2 separate regions of the Homo sapiens genome follow, and region 2 is linked to region 1. Evidence: promoter capture Hi-C in human tissues and cell types (Jung and others, 2019). All regions are on one chromosome and are shown on one strand. Each heading gives the region's core, a stretch centred on a gene start or on the middle of the fragment in contact. The rest is flanking DNA. Distances are from core to core; before and after follow the strand shown.

Region 1 (2,884 bases), core at 24-2,523:
AACGGAAAGTAGTTGCTTTGGAGAACGTGGTTGAGGCTGGAAGCAGGAGTTGATGGGTAAAAGGATGAGGAGAGCTCATACCTGTAGTTCTTTTCATTTCCATGTACGACGCAAATTACCGAGCTCCAAAAAGGAGATGAGCCCAAAACCTTAACAATCAGAGGCTAAAAATGGACTAATCAGTGAGGTGTAAGCCAAGAAGTTAATGAGGTAGGAGGCACAACACGGTCGAGAGTTATAAGACAAACCCAGGTTATTACTTGGGTCCTCGAGGATCCAATTAACTTCTCATTAAGTGGGGCTGGGTGCTCGGCTTCTCAACTGGCGCCAGCCTCCCAGCCCCCAGCCAACGCCTGGAATGAGACTCCAGGGAAATTCGGCCAGCTGGTGGATCTTCAGCGAGATGAAGGCAGTGGCGTGGACAGGCCATTCACGGCGATACCCACCCAACTCTGTCCAGGCCTTAAGCAGAAGGCTGGGAGCAGCACAGCACATCAATGGCAGCCACAACGCCTTCCTTTCCCTTTCCCTTTCCCTGCCTATCACGCAAACACTCCCCTACTAAAGTGTATCCTCCGTGAGAACAGGGCTCCGTCCTTCTTCACGGGATGCGCGGAGCCTAGAAGGGCGCCCGGCCACGGCGACCCCCAAGTACTGGCTGAATAGTGAATGAACTCCGCTTGGCCGCACTTCAGTCTATCTGGGCACTGAAAGATGCGACCCGTGGAGCCGCCTAAGAGAGCACAGGGGGAAGAGAAGAAGCGGAAGCCTCCGGAGGTCCCATCGAGGCGGCCTGCGGGACCTGAGCGCCGGGCTCCGTAGCGCGGTCGGGAGGGGGCTTCTGGTCCCAGGCCCAAGACCGACCGCTTTGCAACTGACCTTCCGGCGGGGGCGCCCGCGCGGGGCACAGCAGCCAGGCTCCGGCGTCCCGCTCCCGCCGCCCCCCGGCGGCGCCCGGCGACCGCTGCGCACGTAGGTCACCTGCCTCCTGCTGGCGCCGCGCGGCTGGCCCGGCGCGGGCGGCAGGTGCGGCCCAGGTGGCCGCCAGGCCGGGCCCGGCGGGGCGCTGCGGGTGGGGGACCCGGGCCCGGCGCGCCGCAGCTCTGCGCAGAGCCGCAGGCCGAACAACAGCACAGCCCCGAGTAGACACCGGCGCAGGACGCCGCAGCCCCTCCCGGGCGGCCTCTCCCGGGCCATGGCGCTACACTCGGGGTCCCGCGGGCCGCGCCTGGCCGGCAGCAGGGATGTAGCCCCACAGGCCGGAGCGGCCAACTGTGGGAACTCCCCCGCGGGCCGGGGTGCGGGCTCGGACCCGCCTCCCTCCCTCCCGACCGAGGAAGCCCCGGCGTAACCTTATCCTGCCCTGCCGAGCGCGCCCCGCCGCTGGAACGGTGGTGGGCCGAACGCGGTCACAGGGGGCCCTCTCCGCCCCTCCGGAGGTGCCAGGGCCCGGCTGTACAGGGTCCCTCAAGAGGTGCCCTCCGCCCCGGCCTCCAAAGCCTGACGGAGCTGAAAGACATAGGGCCAGAAAAAGCGCATTCCTAACGGGATCCCGGGCCATAACTTCATTTTCTGGTATTAGTGTTGTTGGAGAAACACAGGAGGAGGGTAGGTGAGCATACAAGGAACAGTCAAGCAGTTTGCACCATTAAGCACAATATAAAAATAAATAGCACTTATGCCCGGGCTTACAACTTCTCTCTCTCTCTCAAGAAAGAAAGGGATTGGGGGGCGAAGAGAATAGCACTCAATGCAGAATAATCAAATTAGAGTTATTCTATGTCTAAATTCTGCCTGAAGCCAATTCGTGCTTTCTTTCCGTGTTATGAAATGTGTGGGGGTGAAGAAGAAGAGGGAAAAAGCCAGCTAAGACATCTGACAGCGGGTTGGTGAGGAGGGGGGAGAGAGAACAGAAGTTACCATGGCATGATGTAAATCAAATTAATTTAGCTCCAAACACACACCTCCCTGCTGTCTCGCAGAAATACAGAGGGACAAATTTATCTTTCGGCAAAATGCTCCCCAGCTGGTATTTCCATCACCACCTTGACCTTAATTAATCAGACTGAACTCTCACAGCCTGAAGTCCAGTGGTGGATGTTCCATTTTCAATTGTTAGTAGAATCCTTTCCCACAACCCATTTGGGGTGGGTTTGGGTTTTAGGTTTGAGTTTGGGTTTAGATTTTTTTAAGCTGTAGTCACTTTTCTTTTTTTCCTTGCTTTACTCTTGCATTTTCCATGCTTCCATGGGAGACTGCGCCTGTAGACCTATCCTCTTCCCCCGTAACAGCCTACAGCATGGACAAGAGAGAACAAATATGGGGCCCTACCCCCCTGCCCTTTTGAATGTTGGGTATTTTCCGTAGGAAGCCCTCGTCTCTAAAATCCTCTTCTCTTCCTGGCTTAAGAAAGACCCAATTTATTCCCTGCTAGTGAACAAAGCACTTGGGCTGTTTCTCTACATGTAACAAAATATCTCCACCCAGTCTAGTCCACCCCCTGGCCACACCAGATCCTCAGGCTCCTGAACGTTCCATTAGGATTGACTTTTGCTTTTTTCTTAGATGAGTCCAGGGGATATTGCAGATGGGTTCTATTTTAACAAATTTAAACAAGTACGAGTTTTTCCTTACACAAACTGAGAGCCAGCCTCACATCCTGTGACTATTTACTTGAACTGTGTTTGAACCAGGACCCTGCCGTTCAAGCACTATGAGACTTTCAACGAAGTACTGGACCTCTCTGAGTTTCCGTTTTCCCATGAATAAACAGATCTATATATATGGCAGGATTATAAATGTTGCATAAAATATTATATGTTTCATGCCCAAATAATACTGGCTCACAGAAGGGTCTCAATAGTAATTATTTTGTTATTTACCA
Region 2 (3,277 bases), core at 678-3,177, 300 kb before region 1:
TGGCTGTGGTCTCCAATGCTGGCCCTAAGAAGGCAAGGCGGCAGTGATTCAGGGAAGTTAGACACGCTGGTGTTCATAGAGAGGGTGACAATACCCAGAGGACAAAATAGGAGTAAATGAGTTCACAGTTCAGCATAAAATATATAATGGCTATAAGGAAAAAACTACAGTGACAACCATTGTTTTAAATGATTTACCGCACTGGAGTGGGCTATCCTGTCATTGTCTGACTTGGTAGTTTCCCTTCCTTTTCCTTTCAGGTGCTGCATTTTCTAAAACTTAATTTTTTAAATTAAACGGATAACACACAGTTTTGGTTTTAGAATTATCTTTTAAACTCCATTACCCAGTGAGATATCATGAGAACAATTTGGAAATGACAGTAGTTTTTAAAATCTTTGCACAACACAAATTTAAACAAAGTTTCAAAAGCACAAATCAACTTCACATGATGAAACAGAAACTTCTTTAACGTTGTATCCATTAAAATGACTTTACCCAGCTGTTTATGAGTTCCACACATTTTTTGTTTATTTGTTCGTTCATTTAAAAAAATGTATTCCTTCATCCACAGAACCCACCCTCATTCTTTTCCTATCACTTTCACATAGGCAAATATTACATCAGATTATGTATGTGTATTTTGCTTTTCAGTGTTCCTATAAAATGTATGTTGTTATTTTGTATACTTGTACTTTATTTATGTGAGTGGTATTGTATTCTGTGGCTCGCTTTCTTTCTTACATTTTTTCTTTTCTTTTCTTTTCTTTTTTTTTTTTTTTTTTTGGGGGGGGGACAGGGTCTTGCTCTGCCACCCAGCCTGGAGTGCAGTGGCACAATCACTGCTCACTGCAGCCTCAAGCCATCCTCCCACCTCAGCCTCCTGAGTAGCTGGGACTATAGGAGTGTGCCACCACACTCTTTTTTTTTTTTTTTTTTTTTTTGTATTTTGTAGCAACAGGGCTTCAACATGTTGCCCAGGCTGGTCTAGAACTCCTGGTCTCAAGCAATCCACCTGCCTCAGCTTCCCAAAGTGCTGAGATTACAGATGTGAGCCACTGTGCTCGGCCTCTTTGTTACATTTTTCATTGAGCATTCTGTCTTCAAGATCCATCCAAGCTGCCATCTCATAGTAACTTGGCTGGGAATGACTGCTGCAAAATAACCCATCCTGTGTGCCCATCACGTGTCACCTCTGCTCTCCTCGTGAGGGGCACCAACTTCATTTCCAACTCCTTACTCCAACAAACAAACTGTACTGAGCAATCTCCTTGTAGATCTGGTGAGAGTTTCTTCGGGATAAATATGCAGGAGAGACTCGATGGGCATAGGGTTGCATATACTACACTTTTTTAAATGGGACAAGATTGCTCTCTCCAGAAAGACTGAACCAGCCACTCCTTCCCTCTATCAGTGCATATTGGTTCCCACATTCTTATAAAAAACTGGCATTATCCAACTTCATATTTTTGCCAGGCTAACTGGTATAAATTAATTTCTCACATTTTAATTTGCATTGTCTAATTAGTTATTTTTTAGCATCTCCTCATATGTATTATGTAGTGTTATATAATTAGCTTCTGGGGTGGCTGTACATTGCCTGTCCCTATACTTTACTCATTTTTCTATTGGAACTTCTTTTTATTTTTTAGTTGCAGGAAGTTCTTGTATAACCTAAATATTAATCCCAGGTCTAGTTTAGACATCGCAAATATTTTCTCCTATTCTGTCATCTGTCCATCTTAACTTTGTCCCTAGTGTTTTTTATTGAACAGGAATGTTTAATCTTGATTTAATTCAGTTCGTTTGTTTGCTGGTTGTTATGTTGTTTGTTGTTGTTTTGCAATGTGATTTGTGCTTTTGAAATTTTGTTTAAAAAGTCTTTCCCTGCTTCTGGGTCATAAAGATACCTCTTGTATTTACTTGGATTAACTTTATAATTTTATCTAGAAAACATTTTGGTTTCTAGTCTATTTCCAGTATGCCAGCGATGTGGTACAGAGTAGGGACCCAGTTTTATTTTTTTCTATATAGTGAGCCAGATTTCCTAATAACATTTTTACTACACAATCTGTCCTTTCCCTATTGATTTGTGGCAACGCCTCTGTCCTTCATTCATTTCCACATATATCTGTGTTTGTCCCTGACCTCTCCATTCTTCTCCATTGACCAACTTGTCTGTTCTTACTCCAAAACTACACTTAAAAGATTAATTATGGTTTCACAGCATGTCACCATCTAGTAGGATTAGCCCCCTCCCCATCTTTACACTCTTTTTTAAGGTTGATTAGTCACAAATCTTTATGTCTTTATATAAATTAATTTAACCAAGTGCCTCAAAAAACAATCTAGCTGGAGTTTTGATTAAAGTTGCATTTGATATGCAGCTTGATTTGGATAATAATTGACATCTTTTTAATACGTGTCACACCATTTGAAGTTTGGTAAAATTCGCCTGGGAGACTGACTGAGCCTGTGATTTTTGTTTGGAAGGTAGGCTTTTGACTTCAATTTGTTTAATTCTACTGACCTAGTTCAAGTTTTATTTCCTGTACCAATTTTAGCATCTCATATTTTTCTATGAATTTCTTTCTTTCATCTAGCTAGGCTTTCAAATCTAATGGCAGATGGGTATCTGTGCTCTTCTATGCTCTTCTCATCTTTGTGTTGTGATCTCCTTCTTCCCATTCTGTATTTTCATTTATGTCTTATTTTTTTCTTAATCCTTTTTTTATAGATCTCTTTTTAATACTTCAAAAAAAATTGGGCCAATCCTTTCAGTTGATTTTGTTGTGCACTATTTTATTTATTTCTGCCCTATAATGGTTTCCTTCTTTTTTCTTTGCTTTGTTGCTCTTTTGTGATTTTTCCATTAATTGCTGACTTCATTTATCATTAACATATTGTGTTTCCTAATAAATGTATTTAATACTAAATTCTTAATTAGCCAGGCATTGTGTTGTGTGCCTTGTAGTCCCAGCTACTTGGGAGGCTGAGGCAGGAGGATCTCTTGAGCTCAGAAGTTCCAGGCTGCAGTGAGTTATGTTCATGGCATGGCACTCCAGCCTAGGCAACAGAGTGAGACTCTGTCTCAAAAAGAAATACAAAAAATTTTTAAAAACCTAAATTTTCCTGAAATTTTCAGCTGGATACCACAATTTTGATATAGTTCTAATATTTTTAAAATTTATGATTTTCACTGAAAGGCTATTTAGTATGTTGTTCTGTTTCCAAACATAAGAGATTGTTTAGCTCTATTTTTCTTACTGACTTCTGC

Evidence for each region. Contacts are between HindIII fragments. The study calls those that stand out against the background at their distance.
Region 2: a fragment that was not itself captured here is called in contact with the fragment with the promoter of METTL24 in region 1 in 2 of the 25 tissues and cell types used here (aorta and dorsolateral prefrontal cortex).

Annotation. Positions count from the first base shown.
Region 1 is chr6:110,357,076-110,359,959 of GRCh38, forward strand. It overlaps METTL24 (methyltransferase like 24), which reads right to left and starts at 1,274. Exons shown (of 5, transcript NM_001123364.3): 1 at 880-1,274. The coding sequence starts at 1,197. The HindIII fragment of the contact is 11,777 bases long and covers 1-2,884 here.
Region 2 is chr6:110,055,645-110,058,921 of GRCh38, forward strand. No RefSeq gene overlaps it. Among named protein-coding and RNA genes, the nearest start is that of GPR6, 79 kb to the left of the region's middle. The HindIII fragment of the contact is 6,154 bases long and covers 1-3,277 here.